Linked DNA regions of Homo sapiens: regions 1 and 3 are each linked to region 2. Evidence: promoter capture Hi-C in 16 types of primary human blood cells and fetal thymus (Javierre and others, 2016). All regions are on one chromosome and are shown on one strand. The core of a region is centred on a gene start or on the middle of the fragment in contact, and the rest is flanking DNA. Distances in the headings are between cores, read along the strand shown.

Region 1 (4,778 bases), core at 590-3,089, 510 kb before region 2:
TCCTGTAACAACAATTAATGTTATTAATTGTTATTAATGTTAATGTTATTAGTGTAACATTAATTAATGTTAATAGTTAATATAGGCTCCACCTCTAATAGGTATAGTAATATTACTAGTACCATAAAAATTAGTTCAATTTATATAGGACTTATTTTTCTAGTAAAGGTATTTCATAATTAATTACAAATTACCTTTGAATAATTATACCATACAAGCTAACTACCTATCTTATATGTGACTTAACAACTAATTCAGGTTTAAATAATTGCTTCAAAATAAATTGAAGATGATTGTTGAAAATTATGACTTCCCAACTACAAGGATTTATTTCTTGACCTTCCAGTAGCTATCTCCGAGTACTTCTAGGGTGGAACACAGGTGAATTAAACCAGTTGTTTGGCAGCTATAAAGAATTCCTCTCTTTGCATGCCACTGACCTTTTCATTGGTAAACTGGTGGACAGGGTTAAGAGTAGACTTAACAATTCTGCCATCATCAAGCAGTTTTATCATGTTTGGCAACTTTACTCAAATCTGAAAGAACACAAAAGAAAGCTTCCCCATAGCAAGTGGTAGAAGGTTACCTGTGACATATCCCTCCTTTTAGTGACCCCACCAAAGATTACAGTACCCAGGAGAGAAGAGGACTCTCAGCTGCTACACTCAGGGGGACATTTAAAGTACATCCAATTCTGAATTAGAAACATGGGCAAAGGCCTAATTTCACAAAATTGGGCCATCCTGTGCTTGCAGCTCTGCTAATGCTTGAAAGGGAAAGATTTTTTAAAAATTAAAAAGAAAGCAGAAAATGGGAAAGCACTTATTTAAAATTAATGTCACTTCTCATTTTTAATTATTCTTTCCTGAACTCTGCCTCACCCTTAACCCTTTGCTTGTTGTATACACTTAAACCTGGAGACAAACATAAAATTAGTTTGCATATAGACACTAATTAACATACACTGCTTGACGATAACAAACCCATCTTTTCATCTATTTTTAAATTCTTATTGTGAATCCTTAAAATATATCCCATTTTAAAGCATCACTGATTCAATTTTAAAACATTGCCAGAACTTGCTTTGCTAATCTGCAAACTCGATAATTCTCCCCCAAACCTCAGCACACTCAGCAACAATTTAATAGCAAATATCTCTAGTGGGACTTCATATTACTAAGATTCTATTACTTTTTATATTACCAAAAAAGTGCTAGTACACTCTAAAGTATTATAAATAGTTCAGACCAGGCAATGCTTGTCAAAATATATGAAAGTTTATTTTTTTGCACTCAGAAACTTGGGATTTTTATCTTGTGTATTTATAAGCTATAATGTGCCCCTCCATAATTAGTACAAAATGTAGATTACTAATCAACTTTCTAAAGTTTCTAGACATTTTATTTCGTTAACGTGATTACTAAGGTTGGTATGTTGTACGCTTAATAACCCGATCTTGCTACTAAATGCAAATTATAAACATATCTTAAAATAATTGCATATATGCCTAAAATGGGCTTCTTTAATTATATTCTTCTTAGTCTGCTAAGCAGCCTTTTTTCGATTGAGGGAATTTGTGTTTATGCTTCCTGAAGATTTTTAGTTTGGGGTTTAAGAGACGGATATAATCTACACACTTATTTAATAGTTTCAATACGTTTAAAAATGACCTTTAAGAAGTATATATCCCCCTTAACTACCAAATGCTTTGTATCTTGTCAGAAGTCGCTGTAAAACTGTTCAACTTTTGAAACGTTCAAGTTCTTCCATCATTAGTACAAGTCCAACTAGAAGTATACAGAAGTAGGTCAATCTATAAATACAGAGATATTTCCATAAAGAAGAGATTTTATAATGCTCGATCAAGGTATGTCTTCAGCAATTTCATGCTAGCTCCATTTTTAAACAGATTATTACTCATTCTGCGTGAGGCCACTGTGCTTCTTATTTATTTGCAATAAATACTATTCACTATACAAACCAATCTTTAATAAACTACTCACATTCTTTATTACAGGTGAATTGCAAAATGCCACCTTAATTATAAAGCAAATCCACTGTTGATATTTGCACCAAGTGTGTATGGACAAACCAGCAACACAGACATATTAATAACCTCCAACTTGTATTCCCATGCCCCATGAAATTTCTCTAAGGGTTACGAAGTGATGCCCTTTTGGCCCAATTTTCTGCCCCTCCTCTACCCTTCACTGTTTCTCTAGTACATTCTATCCCTTTAAATTCCCTCTCCATGCTAATACAATCTACTCTTTTTTTTTTTTTTTTTTTTTTTGAGACGGAGTCTCGCTCTGTCACCCAGGCTGGAGTGCAGTGGCGTGATCTCGGCTCACTGCAAGCTCCGCCTCCCGGGTTCATGCCATTCTCCTGCCTCAGCCTCCCAAGTAGCTGGGACTACAGGTGCCTGCCACCATGCCCGGCTAATTTTTTGTATTTTTAGTAGAGACGGAGTTTTCACCATGTTAGCCAAGATGGTCTCAATCTCCTGACCTCGTGATCCACCTACCTCAGCCTCCCAAAGTGCTAGGATTACAGGTGTGAGCCACTGCACCTGGCCCAATCTACTCTCCTTTTAAAAAATTTACAGTGAGGTATAACTGTCACAGGAACAAAAATACTCCAGCTTCTTCTCTCCCTGTAGATGGATCTAGCTGGCAAGCCAAATCATAAGGAAGAGGCTCTTTAACAAATTTGATCAAACAAAGGCGGGTACCTGGAAATAGACTCAAAGTGGATCCTGTGCATTGAGAGATGGTCTTGCTCATTGCAATGGAATTTTCCACCTCCCAGTGAAGGAAGCATAACACTGCTCTGGGTTCCCCTTGGCAAAAATGTAGTCCTGCTCCCTTACTATTTCCATGGTATGATCTGAACCATGTCCCAGAGTGAGACTGATTCCATGGCAAAGCTAGAAGGGCAGGCTTAGTCTCTGATACACTAATCAGGTGCCTTCAAGTGAAAAAAGTCAACACACTTTTTCTGGCTTGAAGGGCAGAACTCGCCCTATCCATCCATTCCTCATTCAAACAATTTCTGACAAATTCAGCACCTACTACTATTCCAAAACACATTTGTGCCACAGGTGTGGTCGTCAATAAGCTTAATGCCCAGCTGCTTAGAATCACAGAAAATTCCAAGCTCCTTTTATAGACACAGAAAACAAGACCCAGAGAGGTTATATGATTTTCCAGAATTAGACAGCTGGCTAGAATACTCCGGCTTTTCTTTATATCCTTTTTTTATTTTTATTTTTTTCACAAGACAGCATTTAGTACAATCTTTACTGGTTTTACAGCTATTTTTTTTATTTTATTTGTCAGGCCTGAGGGACTCTTCCATCCTTGTCAAACGGGGTGCTAACCTCTCTAGCTATTAAGTAAACTAGACCACAAGTGACTACTGCAACCAAGCACGCAGGGGCAGGGTGTGGAGCACTGCATTCAACTTTAGTTTTCAGAGGTCCTCGGTAGGGTGCTTTTATGTTCTTGTTAATGAATATAAATAAAACTTAAAGTTAGTCTCCTCAGAGTGAGGGTCTCTAAAAGCACAATTCAGGCTCCAAAAACAAGGAAAACTCATGGAGATATAGACCATTACTTGTGGAAAGTAGTAAAAAGGACACAGAATAATGTCTCTGAGCTTCTTGAATTTACATCTCTGCTTCTACCTTTGTCTGTGAGAGAGATATATAGACAGACAGATCGATATATATATCATATTAAATATGCATATATTGCATATAATATATGAATTATATATATATATCTGTTTTCTATATACAGTGTAAAGAATATCTTTAATGTTTTCAAGCTTCTATAACTGGAGCTAATGTAAAATTGTGAAAATAACTAGATCGAGTGGATTGGCTGTGTCACAGACAGATACAGATTTGAGATACGACTAGAGGATAATATTTTGCTGTCCTGGTCCTCAGTGTCCACCCCTCCCAACCCCCTGCTAAGGAGAGAGCATATCAAATCATTTCTTCACACAAGTAACATCAGGAGTGGTGGGAGGAGGTCATGCAGCTCCTAGAACAAAAGATTAGAATCAACTGTTGATGACAGAGGATATTTGGGAACTTAAAGTCCTGTGAATTATATTATGTGTAAAAATTCTATATGAGTGAGCCAGGCTGTCACAAACCCTGGTTGACAATATAACTGGACAACAAGCCATTCACCCCTAGGAGCCTCTTCTCCACCCTGGAAGCAACCCTCATCCTCCTGACGGCTCCCTACCCTCTAAAGCTCACATGTGTCTGCCTCTTCATGTTCCTTCCAGTCAGAAAGCTGCTCAGGAGGTAAGTATAGATGTTCTGTTCTACCTTTTTCAGTGGCAGAAAAAATAATGAAGACATTTTAGTTGCAAGAAGGCACTTGGCTTTTAGCCACTGGCCAATTTTCCCACTCATTAGCGGCCTTTGAGCCTTTTTCACTTATCTTACTTATCTGCTTGTTGTTGTTCTGCTTTTTCGGAATATATCACTTCTGATACAATAACTCAAAAAGCCAGTGGTCTGAATGTTGTTTTAATCCCTGAGGACATCGCCACTGGTGCAGAATTCAGCCCCACGGGTGTTCCCATACACCTGATCCTGGCCCACCAAGAAAAGATTCACAGTGTTTTGCCTACACTGTGTATGACAGCAGGTGAAGGAGAATACTTTAGAAAGGCTTCATTATGAAGTATTCAAAATTAAGGTAAAGTACCCAAATCTTAGCTCTTCAGAAAATCCAAATGTAGATATCCACGTTTTT
Region 2 (4,948 bases), core at 93-2,592:
CTGGCTGGGGGCGACTGAGGAGGAGCAAGATGAGGAGGAAGATGAGGACGATGACCTGCCTTTAGTGTTGGGCAGCTTATGATCTTTTTTCCACTTCATCCTCCGGTTCTGGAACCAGATCTTGATCTGGCGCTCCGACAGACACAGGGTGTGAGCGATTTCAATCCGACGGCGCCTTGTCAGATACCTGTTAAAATGAAATTCTTTTTCCAGTTCTAGGACTTGCTGCCGGGTGTAGGCCGTTCGGGACCGCTTGGGTTCCCCACCGGTGTAGTTGGGGTTCACTGCGAGACAAAACAGACAGGACAGGCAGGTCAGCGCCCGGCCACTAGTTAGGCCCCTCGCCTCCGCCGCTCACTTCCTGGCGCGCCCCGAGGCCCGCGGCCCTCCCCGCGCGCTCCCAAGCTCGCTTGCTTCCTCCCTCCCGCCCTCTCCCCGGCGCACACGCTCACTCCCACCCACCTCCTCAAACACACCCACATACCCCAGGCTTGCGGGATCCCCAAATGTGCTCCTTCTTCTGGGCCCACCACCAGGTCCGGAACCCTCAAGCATTTTGGAAATCCCCCGCTCCTCCACAGCCTTCCCCCTGCTCTGAAAATGGAGTCCTCCCCCACCCCCCCATCCCCACCCCCTTTTGCGCCCACAGCCGAGCAGCCAGCCACATGGTCCTGACCTGCTCCCTCAGCTATAAAAATTTATGGGGAGAGTAATTGCGGCGCCCATGGAAGCTCCACACGCCCCCACCTACTCGCACCCCCTTCCAGAGGACCCAGGCTAACGGGCTGGGATGTGGACAGAAAGGTTACTGGACCCTAGCCTTACCCGAATTCACGTGCACCTTCTTCATCCAGGGGTAGACCACGGCCGGCTGCTTGAGTGCCGTCCCGGAGGGCGGCTGCTTGGGGTCGGACTGACTGTAGGCCCGGGCGCCAGGCAGGGGCGCCGGCGGAGGCGCCGGGGGAGCTGGGCAAGGCTCTCCTGGAGCGGCGTAGTGACCGCCGGGGCCGCCTGGCTCTTGTCCGTGACCCCGCGCAGGCAGCGCCGAGCCAGGCCCGGGGCCGCTGCCTCCGAAAGGCTGCTCACCGAAGTCGGGCCGTGGGTAGAGCCCCGGGGGCTGGAAGTCTGCGCCCTGCGCGCCGCCGCCGTAGTAGTCGGCGCCCTGCTCGCCTAGGTAGCCGCCCTGCAAATACTCCTCGCACGGAGGGAACTTGGGGTCCACATACTTGGAGTTCACCATATACGAACTCATGACCATTAATTTCAGAAGGTAGAAAATACTAATTTTTCTCGTGTTGTCTTTTTTTCTCCTTCCATAGGGCCCTCCTACTTGCTGTCAACTGAATAAAGTTGGGCAGCCATGTGACCAGGCCAGCCAATGGCGAGGGAGCAAGTTTATCACCGGGTTGGTGAGCATCTCATAATTTTCACAAATTTAACTAAATAACATACGTGTAATCAAGTAGCTTGCTATGGCACATTTGAGAGCCCCTGCCAGATATTAATGTAGTTCCAGTCCCCAGCACCCCATTCCCCTCAGGTAATCCCAGCTTTTGTCTGCCACTGATTTTGCCAACCTTCCGTGGCCCTTCCACTCACCCCCAGCTGAATGCAACCCCCGCCCCCCGACACCAAGTAGGCACAGCTCAAGGGAGAATGAATCCTCCTATTGGGGTACAGAGCAATGAAAGGTGGGTGGGTGAACTCGCCTCTGAGTTGGGCAGAGTGCCCCAGGCGAGGAGGGTTCCTGCCTGCCCGCCCTGCCTGCAGCCGGCGGGAGCAGGGATTCTGCCATACAAAGGCCGCCGTCCTGGCTTTGTCTTCATCAGGGTCACCCAAAAGTTACCAGAATCTGGCCAGCTTGAATCAAATTAGGCAATGAGTAACCGCCATGCTTTCTACCAGTGCCCAGGCCCGGGGGTTCCCAGCCAAAGCTGGGCCCTGCCAAAATAGCAGGGGGCCCTCGCTGCCCTTGCCCATGTAGCTGGGGGTGGGCTGGGATGGTGGCAAGGGCACCTCCACCTTGTCAAAATGCACCCTAGAGCTCCCCACTGGGCTTCTTTGAAGCTTGCTTTCTTCCCACAGGCCCCAAATACAAGCAAGCCCCCATTTGGGTACCTTTGCACCTCATGTTCCTGGAGGGCAGAGCTGGGACTGGGCAAGCTGGCCTTGTACCTCACTCCCTAGTACCCCAAAACCTAGCCCTTTGGCCCTGCATCCATGCAACCAATTAGGCTTGCATTCTCTCTTTCTCTCTCTCTCTCTCTTTCTCTCTTTCTGTCTTTCTTTCTTTTCAGCACCCAGAGGATACTCTGTTTAAAGGTGAGGAGCTTCTGGAGAGGAAAAGCTGCTCTATGTCACCAGGCGCAGCTGATCCTCCTGGAGTCCAAGGTAATAAAACAGAACGAGGCGGCTGACCAGCGCCGGCTGCTTCTAGTCTCCATGTCGCACTTTGGTCTCTGGCTATTCCGAAGAAACGTGAAGTTTTTGCATCGACCATATATTCCCCTAGAATCGAATCTGTGACTATACGGATACCACACAAATTCGGTTCTACAGGGTATATATAGACAACGTTACAACCTCTGGGTCCCACCCAGAGTGAGGTACCTAGGTCGCTGCCGGCCCCAATCTCTTCCTCTGAGCCACCACCGTTCGACGCAGCCACCCGCACTTTCTGAGACAGTTCAGGTAGCCTAATGGGCTTGGCGACAATTTGAAGCAATGAGTTCCCTCATTCTTCTGCCAGGGTCAGGGTTACCAAGCAGGCGAACAACCAGAATATTCTTCTTAAGAAAGAAAAAAAGAAAGAAAGAAAGAAAAATAATCCATCCCAAGGATGGCGGCTTTATTAACCACCCTCCCCCACCAGGATCCAAATAACCCTCCTCCTTACCAAGTGGTATTTTCCAGAAAGGAACAAATGCCCTCAGCGGCAGAAGAAAAAGAAGCGAGAGGGGAATATCCTGTGTCTACTCCTTTTCCTACTGCCCGACCAAGCCAGGTTGTCTGCCAAAGCTACTTCTCCAAGAAGTCGCGCATTTACCTTCATGGGCCCTGATCCGGGCTGGCCTCTCCGTTCCGCTGCTGCTGCAGACCCCGAGGCAGGCGCTGCTCACAGGCACCGAGCCGCCTTGGGCTGAGGCCGGCGCGCTAATGGTGAAGGGCAGGGCGAGGGGTCATTCGAAATCATTTACAAACATATCACAAACTTTCATTATTTTTGCTTTGCCGACAGCAGCACACAAGAGTACAAAAGTTCACAAATTTCACCCGCCCCAGCGCCTCGGCACTGTGCAGTGCTTGTCCCTCAGTTCAGGGCATGGAGAGCGCAGACTCACTCAGAGCCTCGATGGATTTCAGGGGCACAGGGATGCCCTGGCTCGAGTGGGGCTTTTGGGTGCCTAACTGTAGGCTGAAGGTGTTAGATTTTTTTTTAACTGTCTTGATTGCCCTTCCTACCTCCCACATAATTCAAAATTTAGTTTCAAGCCTGGGCCTGGGCCTGGTGGGGTGGGGCAGGGATACTCCCCCTCCAAGCCTGGCACTTTGCTCATCCCCCCATCCTTTGCTTCCACCACTTTACCTGTTTCGTAGGGATTTTGGGGGCGCCAGTTCTAACAAGGGCTATGAGGCTGCAGAATCTGTTTATCCCAGGAGAGTCCCCCCAATTTCCCTGAATGCCAAAGACTCCCAAGTATCCACCTTCCTGGGACACTGGGCCTAGGCTCTATCCAGACAAATTGGGGGAGCCTGCTGAGCCGGCTGGAGACCGGGGTGAATATACACATTTTCATATTTGTTAGACGCTGTGACCTGCATTTCACCTTATTGCTCGACTTGTTCAGACAGGTCAAAGCCAACGAGTTATTGATGAACAAAAGCGTTAAATATTCACCTCCCGCTCAACTGCCCATACTAATGCTTTTGATCTCTAGGGCTTTTTGTGCTGTGTTCAGCTACAGGGCGCTGAATGTGGGTTTGCTAGCGAGAAGCTTCTGCAGAGATAAGCACCCAGAGCCAGTGCAGGGGAGGAGAGAAGCAAGACCAGAGGTCCCCAGGACACCAGATTTTCCAGACTGGAGCCCAGAGCCCCTTTCACTTGAGCCAGCCTGGTGTATAGGGGTAGTTGCTCTTCTAGGGGTGTGCACAGTCTACAAAGGGTCGACTAGACTGCCCAGCCCAGCGGGGCCAAAAAACCTGTCTCTGAGGCCAGCCCCAGCTTTTCCAACCAAGAAGGAGGGAGACTGGTTCCTGCAGCCCTCACATATTCCAACTCCCATTAAAATAAAATCACTTCCGTTTTGCAGTGAGGGAGGGGCCACAGTTCTTTCTGTGACTCTCCCTCCAATACCATCGTCTTAATGAGATGGTCCTCCAGGAGGCTTCACAGGCCTAATCAGAAATGTACCTGTCTTTCGCGGCACAGGCAACTCAGAAAGATCCAAACATCCAAGCCAAGGATCCCACGAGTCTCTGGCCCCACCCCACCGCATCCACCCCACTCCACCCTCCTATGCCTCCTTGCAGCACCAGCGCCTCTGGGGCGGAAATTCTCCAACTGCAGTTACAGAGAAGCAGAGGTGAAAAGAAGGTCCGTATCCCTCCTCGCTCAGCCAGTGTCCCAAGCCCAGGGCCCACACCGCTGCAAACAGATCGGGGGAGGGGCGGGGAAGGAATGTCCACATAAAGCTCAGAAGCGGGCAACTCAACACACCCACGGCCACAGAGGATTGAGTTTTTGTTTTCAGTGAATTTTTTTAAAAACAGAAGGTTGGCCAGGCTAGACCAGGTTAAGAAGGGTTGGGCTGCGGAGGGGACCGCATTGCCTTGGTGTTTACTGCGTTGGTTTGAAGCCGCTAATAAGACAGGCTGCTAATTAGCAAGCTCTTAACAGAAGTGAGCGCCTTGGCGGAGCTGCACCTGTGCAGAGCAGGGAAGGGCCGCG
Region 3 (4,421 bases), core at 1,203-3,702, 990 kb before region 2:
CCAAAGTGCTGGGATTACAGGGCGTGACACCGCGCCCGACCTAAAATAATAGTTTTAAGAGAAACTGCTGCCTTGTGAAATTGAATTCTCAGTCTATAATGTGGCGTATGCTTCTGTTTTAAATTCATTATAAAAGGTATTTAAACTTCATAGATTTCTTCCCCCTGTGTATTTTTGTCAGCCTAGACGCACAAAGAAAGAAGAATGCTCTATACCTTGTGGACATTTAATAAAGATTAATTTTTTTAAACTAACAATTTAAGTATAATCTCCAAATGGAAGCATATCTATGTTAGTTTAAATCCTTTCACAATAAATAACAGAATACAGGAAACTTTTAGGAAGGTTTATGATTTTCCATAAGAAAAATGTGCTTAGAGCTTAGAGGGGAACATTTTACAATTTTTTTAAAAAAATCTACATCTTCCTTCTGCAGATATCAATACAATCAATTGACAGTAAATGAAAAAGCCGAAAAAAAAGAATGCCCCCTCTCCAGTCTTCCTTTTTTTTTTTTTTAATTTCAGTTGGAAAATCCCCACTGAATGAATTTTTTTGAAAAAGTAAATGTATCCTGGGAACATGCCGTTCAGGATTTTGGAAAAGGAACTTCAAACGAAATTGGTAAGGGAGGCAAATGCGTAAGTGGAAACTTTGAGGAAACTGGCAATGAGAGACTGGAAATCAGGCAGTCATTTACGTTTTACTTCACCACCCTTTGCTTATGTGAGTACAAAGCAGGGAGCTGGCAAGGCTGTGAGTCAGAACTCTCCTCTCAGGAACTGAGCAGAGAGATTCCCAGCATCTGTTTCCTCAACTATCACCCAGAGGATACTGGTGGTAAATCACAGGGAATAAAAATAGCCTCAGAAGTCTAGTTCCAGACAAATAAGGCATGCTGGATATTCGATAGTGGTTTGGGGTCTCAAAATTCTTCATTAGCTAAATAACAAATATATTATTTTTTACATTAATGAGCATATTCCTTACATTGTTCACCTAAATGTTGAGCACAACCTTGGCATTTCTACTGACGTGAGTTGAAGTATTACCTAAATTACATTATGTTTGATGTTACAGTCTGAACCATTTAGTGTATAAAGGTGGGTCTACAATCAATAATCACAAATGTTAAAGCTTTATTTTAGATACAATAAAACATTTATTTCTAAGATGTTAAAAAAAAACCCATAAGCTTCTTACCATAATGTCAATTGCCAATAGATTGATAAGATCTTTCTGCATTTTGACTGCAGGAAATTTTATGGCTAGAATCTTACAATTTACACAACTTACAGTCTTTTTAGGTTATATTTCACATATAAGAAAGTATTTTTTAGGTCTGCCTAGAAATGTTGTAATTTGATATTAAGTTATAGCTTAGATTTTCAACAAAAACAGCAGCTGTAATAGATGAGATTAGCAAGTGGTGAAAAGTTCAAAGCATTTAATGGAATTGATCTACTAAATTAGCATTGACAATTTTTAGTGGCTATCTTAAATATACATTATTATCATGAAAGAATTAGTCCAATTAAGCCTTTACATTTGGAAGATGCCCAGTCTGACCTTGTTCTACTCAATGTGAAAAGTGAGAGGGTCTTTGGGTTTATTTAAATTTGGTGTTAAATCAATTGGTTTGGGGGACCTTTTACTCCTTTTTGGAATGGAAGAAAAACTCAAAGGCTATTTATAGTGACAAATGGGTTATTAGAACAGTTAATATATTATATTATAATTTATAATTATAAATTATAATTAATATAATATATAACAGTTTTTATATTGCAAATAAAAAATGATGACCAGGAGTTGCTCTGAACCTATTCTGGTTTAGGGAGCTGCCCAGCTAAAAAAAAAAGAAAAAATAATGATTGAAGAATAGAACAAAATAATATTTGATACATAGGTGAGAATCAATTAGAGTGGGATTCTTTTCTCACAATTTCTTACTAAAGCCATATTTACTGGGTATACTGGATGTATTTTGGAACTGAAATAATTATATTGTATTTAATATCAGGTTTTATTTAGAACACTCTCAATTAAGAAATAACCAGCTAATAAAAAAATAGAAATCTATGCAAATATACATGAAGAAATAAGTATGGGATTTTCCAGAAATCTAATTTCTATACATCAATAGTATATTTTATATTCTGTTGATACAGACTTCTATGATAACTTGAACATAAATATCATGAAAATAAAATTGAGTTTTGAATTGTCAGTTTAATTGTGCAAACTCTCTGATGATGGCTGGTTACTCATTTATCATGAAATTGTGGAGTCTTGGCTCTTACGTAAGGGGCTTGGTTGAAAGGCCAGCTTCTTAATTCACAGCGGCTTATACGTGAGTCTTCATTGGAGCTCAGGAGCTAGCTCTTTTGTGAAAGCATTTAGTAAAATATATTTTAGTTGAGGTTTTTTTTTTTTTTCTGTTGTTATCCATTCCAATATTTAATGGTCCATTTCCCTAATCTGGGCTTCTAACCCAGACACTTTTGGACATTTTTAATAGAAAAAGATGTCTTTTGCGTAAGATTTCTTCAAAAAGAAAATTGTAACTAATTTACCCCCCAGCTTTCTCTTCTATAAACGGAAAAATCCAATTCTCATTTATCAACTCCCCACCTTTTTAAGTTCTCCTCTGAATGCTCAGCAAATTATTCATATCCATCTTTAAATATAGCACTCTGAGGGGAGTTTAGTGCTTTATTAAGGTATCTGAGGAAGATGGGAGATGATCTCATTTATTCCTGAGGATGTATTGAAAAATCCTCTCTCTGCCAGACTCTGCTAGGTGCTGGGAATACAGTAAGATTTAACAAAAACCTTGAGGGAGAGAAAGATTTGCCAACAAGTAATGGCAATACAACATGTTAAGTGCTAACATGGGTGTAGACAACATGCATTTGTCTGTCAGTCCTAATTCGGTATTCATTGTCAAAACAGTATTTTAAACTGCTACAGCAATGCCTACTGACAGTCATATTTCTATGCAAACAATTTCTAATTAGCTCCTGTAATTCAGGTGTGTACTTTGAACACATTTTTCCATACTACGTTTAATCTACATTTTGTTTCTTATTTGTACAATTTTATCTTAAATTGTTATTTTACCTTCTAAATTTCATTTTTTGGCCTCTTCTGTCTGTTATTCGGGTTGATATCAAAAACACCATTTGTCGTCTCCTCAATTTGAATGCTTTAGTTAGAACTCCCCAGCCAATCTATAGTTAATGAATCAACAGTTGTCTGTTCCTGGTCTATTTTCCTAGCATGCCTTGTAGGAGAGAATCAAAAGCCTTCCTAAAGTCCAGCTTAGGGTTCATCAGTTAATTTTCTGTGATCCATCAGGCCTTCCACTCTGCTATGTAATAGGATGACTGTCTATTATCTACATAGGACAAGTTCTTTGTGAAGCTATATTGATTATTAATGATTGTGTAATTAGGTACGCTCTCAAGAGTTCTGGTTATTTTGGTCCTTTTTTGAATCTCTAGGCATCTACTCAGTTCTCTGAATATTACACAAAGGTAGGGACAATAATTTTGTACCACTCATTCAGTGTTGTCAAATGGAAACAAATCAGAGCTGGGGCTATCAGAAAAGAAGTGGGCAAGTCATGCATCCTGGTCATCGTCTATCACATGTCAGCATTAGCTTCTGCATAGTGCAGCACTGATCATGGCATGATGCAAGCTTTATTTGGTCACCATGGACAAGTATTCCCCTTTTATTGATTTGTAATACACCATTAAGCTTCATTGTAATAAAATTGGACATGATAGATAGCAAAATGATAAAAACCACCTGTAATTCCCCTAACTAGAGACTAGCATTGTTAGCAGTTTGGTTTACACATGCACGTTGGTGTATGTGGATGTGTGTGTGTAAAATGTGTATAATAAACATACATACTGTTTTGCATCAACCCACCTTTTTCACTCAGTACTACATAGAGTTCATTTTTCTAAGATAATGCACATCATATAACCATAGAAATTCAACTTTTCAGTATTGAATCACAACTGTGTTCTTTTTGTTGTTCAATAATACTTCTCTAACTCCATGAGTAAAAAGAAACCTCTCCTTCACTCATACCTCTCTTATAGCATTATCTCTTTTTAAATTTAGGTAGATTCCTTATTATCTTAGTAATTGCAGTCTCTGAGAGTAGGATCTATACATGATTTATCCTTATGTTTCTTACATTTTAGCTGCATAATAAATATTTATTGAATAAATGAATACATGAATTTTAGTAACGGGAACTGAAATCTTGGAACTTCATGTTTTGCTTTTAGTTCTGTCTCTGATTTCACTTTGTACCTCAGTTTACCCAGGTACAGAAAGGATATAAAGCAATTTGTCACTTACCTGAAATCACCAAGCTATGAAATATACCACGAAGCTAA

Evidence for each region. The method cuts DNA at HindIII sites, captures the fragments that hold promoters and counts their contacts. A CHiCAGO score of 5 or more calls a contact.
Region 1: a contact is called between a fragment that was not itself captured here and the fragment with the promoter of HOXD4 in region 2, in 1 of 17 cell types (fetal thymus). The highest score is 5.0, in fetal thymus.
Region 3: a fragment that was not itself captured here is called in contact with the fragment with the promoter of HOXD4 in region 2 in 6 of 17 cell types (naive CD8 T cells, naive CD4 T cells, non-activated CD4 T cells and 3 more); the score reaches 8.7 in naive CD8 T cells.

The regions. Positions count from the first base shown.
Region 1 is chr2:176,663,298-176,668,075 of GRCh38, reverse strand. It overlaps the pseudogene RNU6ATAC14P. Among named protein-coding and RNA genes, the nearest start is that of LINC01117, 28 kb to the right of the region's middle. The HindIII fragment of the contact is 2,560 bases long and covers 560-3,119 here.
Region 2 is chr2:176,147,944-176,152,891 of GRCh38, reverse strand. HOXD4 (homeobox D4) reads right to left here and starts at 1,342. Exons shown (of 2, transcript NM_014621.3): 1 at 826-1,342; 2 at 1-284. The coding sequence starts at 1,258. It overlaps MIR10B (microRNA 10b), which reads right to left and starts at 2,589; the gene lies at 2,480-2,589. It also overlaps a transcript of HOXD3 not described here. RefSeq lists enhancers at 890-1,623, 4,152-4,695. The HindIII fragment of the contact is 3,668 bases long and covers 1-2,069 here.
Region 3 is chr2:177,139,943-177,144,363 of GRCh38, reverse strand. All of the region lies in intron 1 of LOC105373760 (a long non-coding RNA gene), which reads left to right. Among named protein-coding and RNA genes, the nearest start is that of MIR4444-1, 71 kb to the left of the region's middle. The HindIII fragment of the contact is 2,510 bases long and covers 1,198-3,707 here.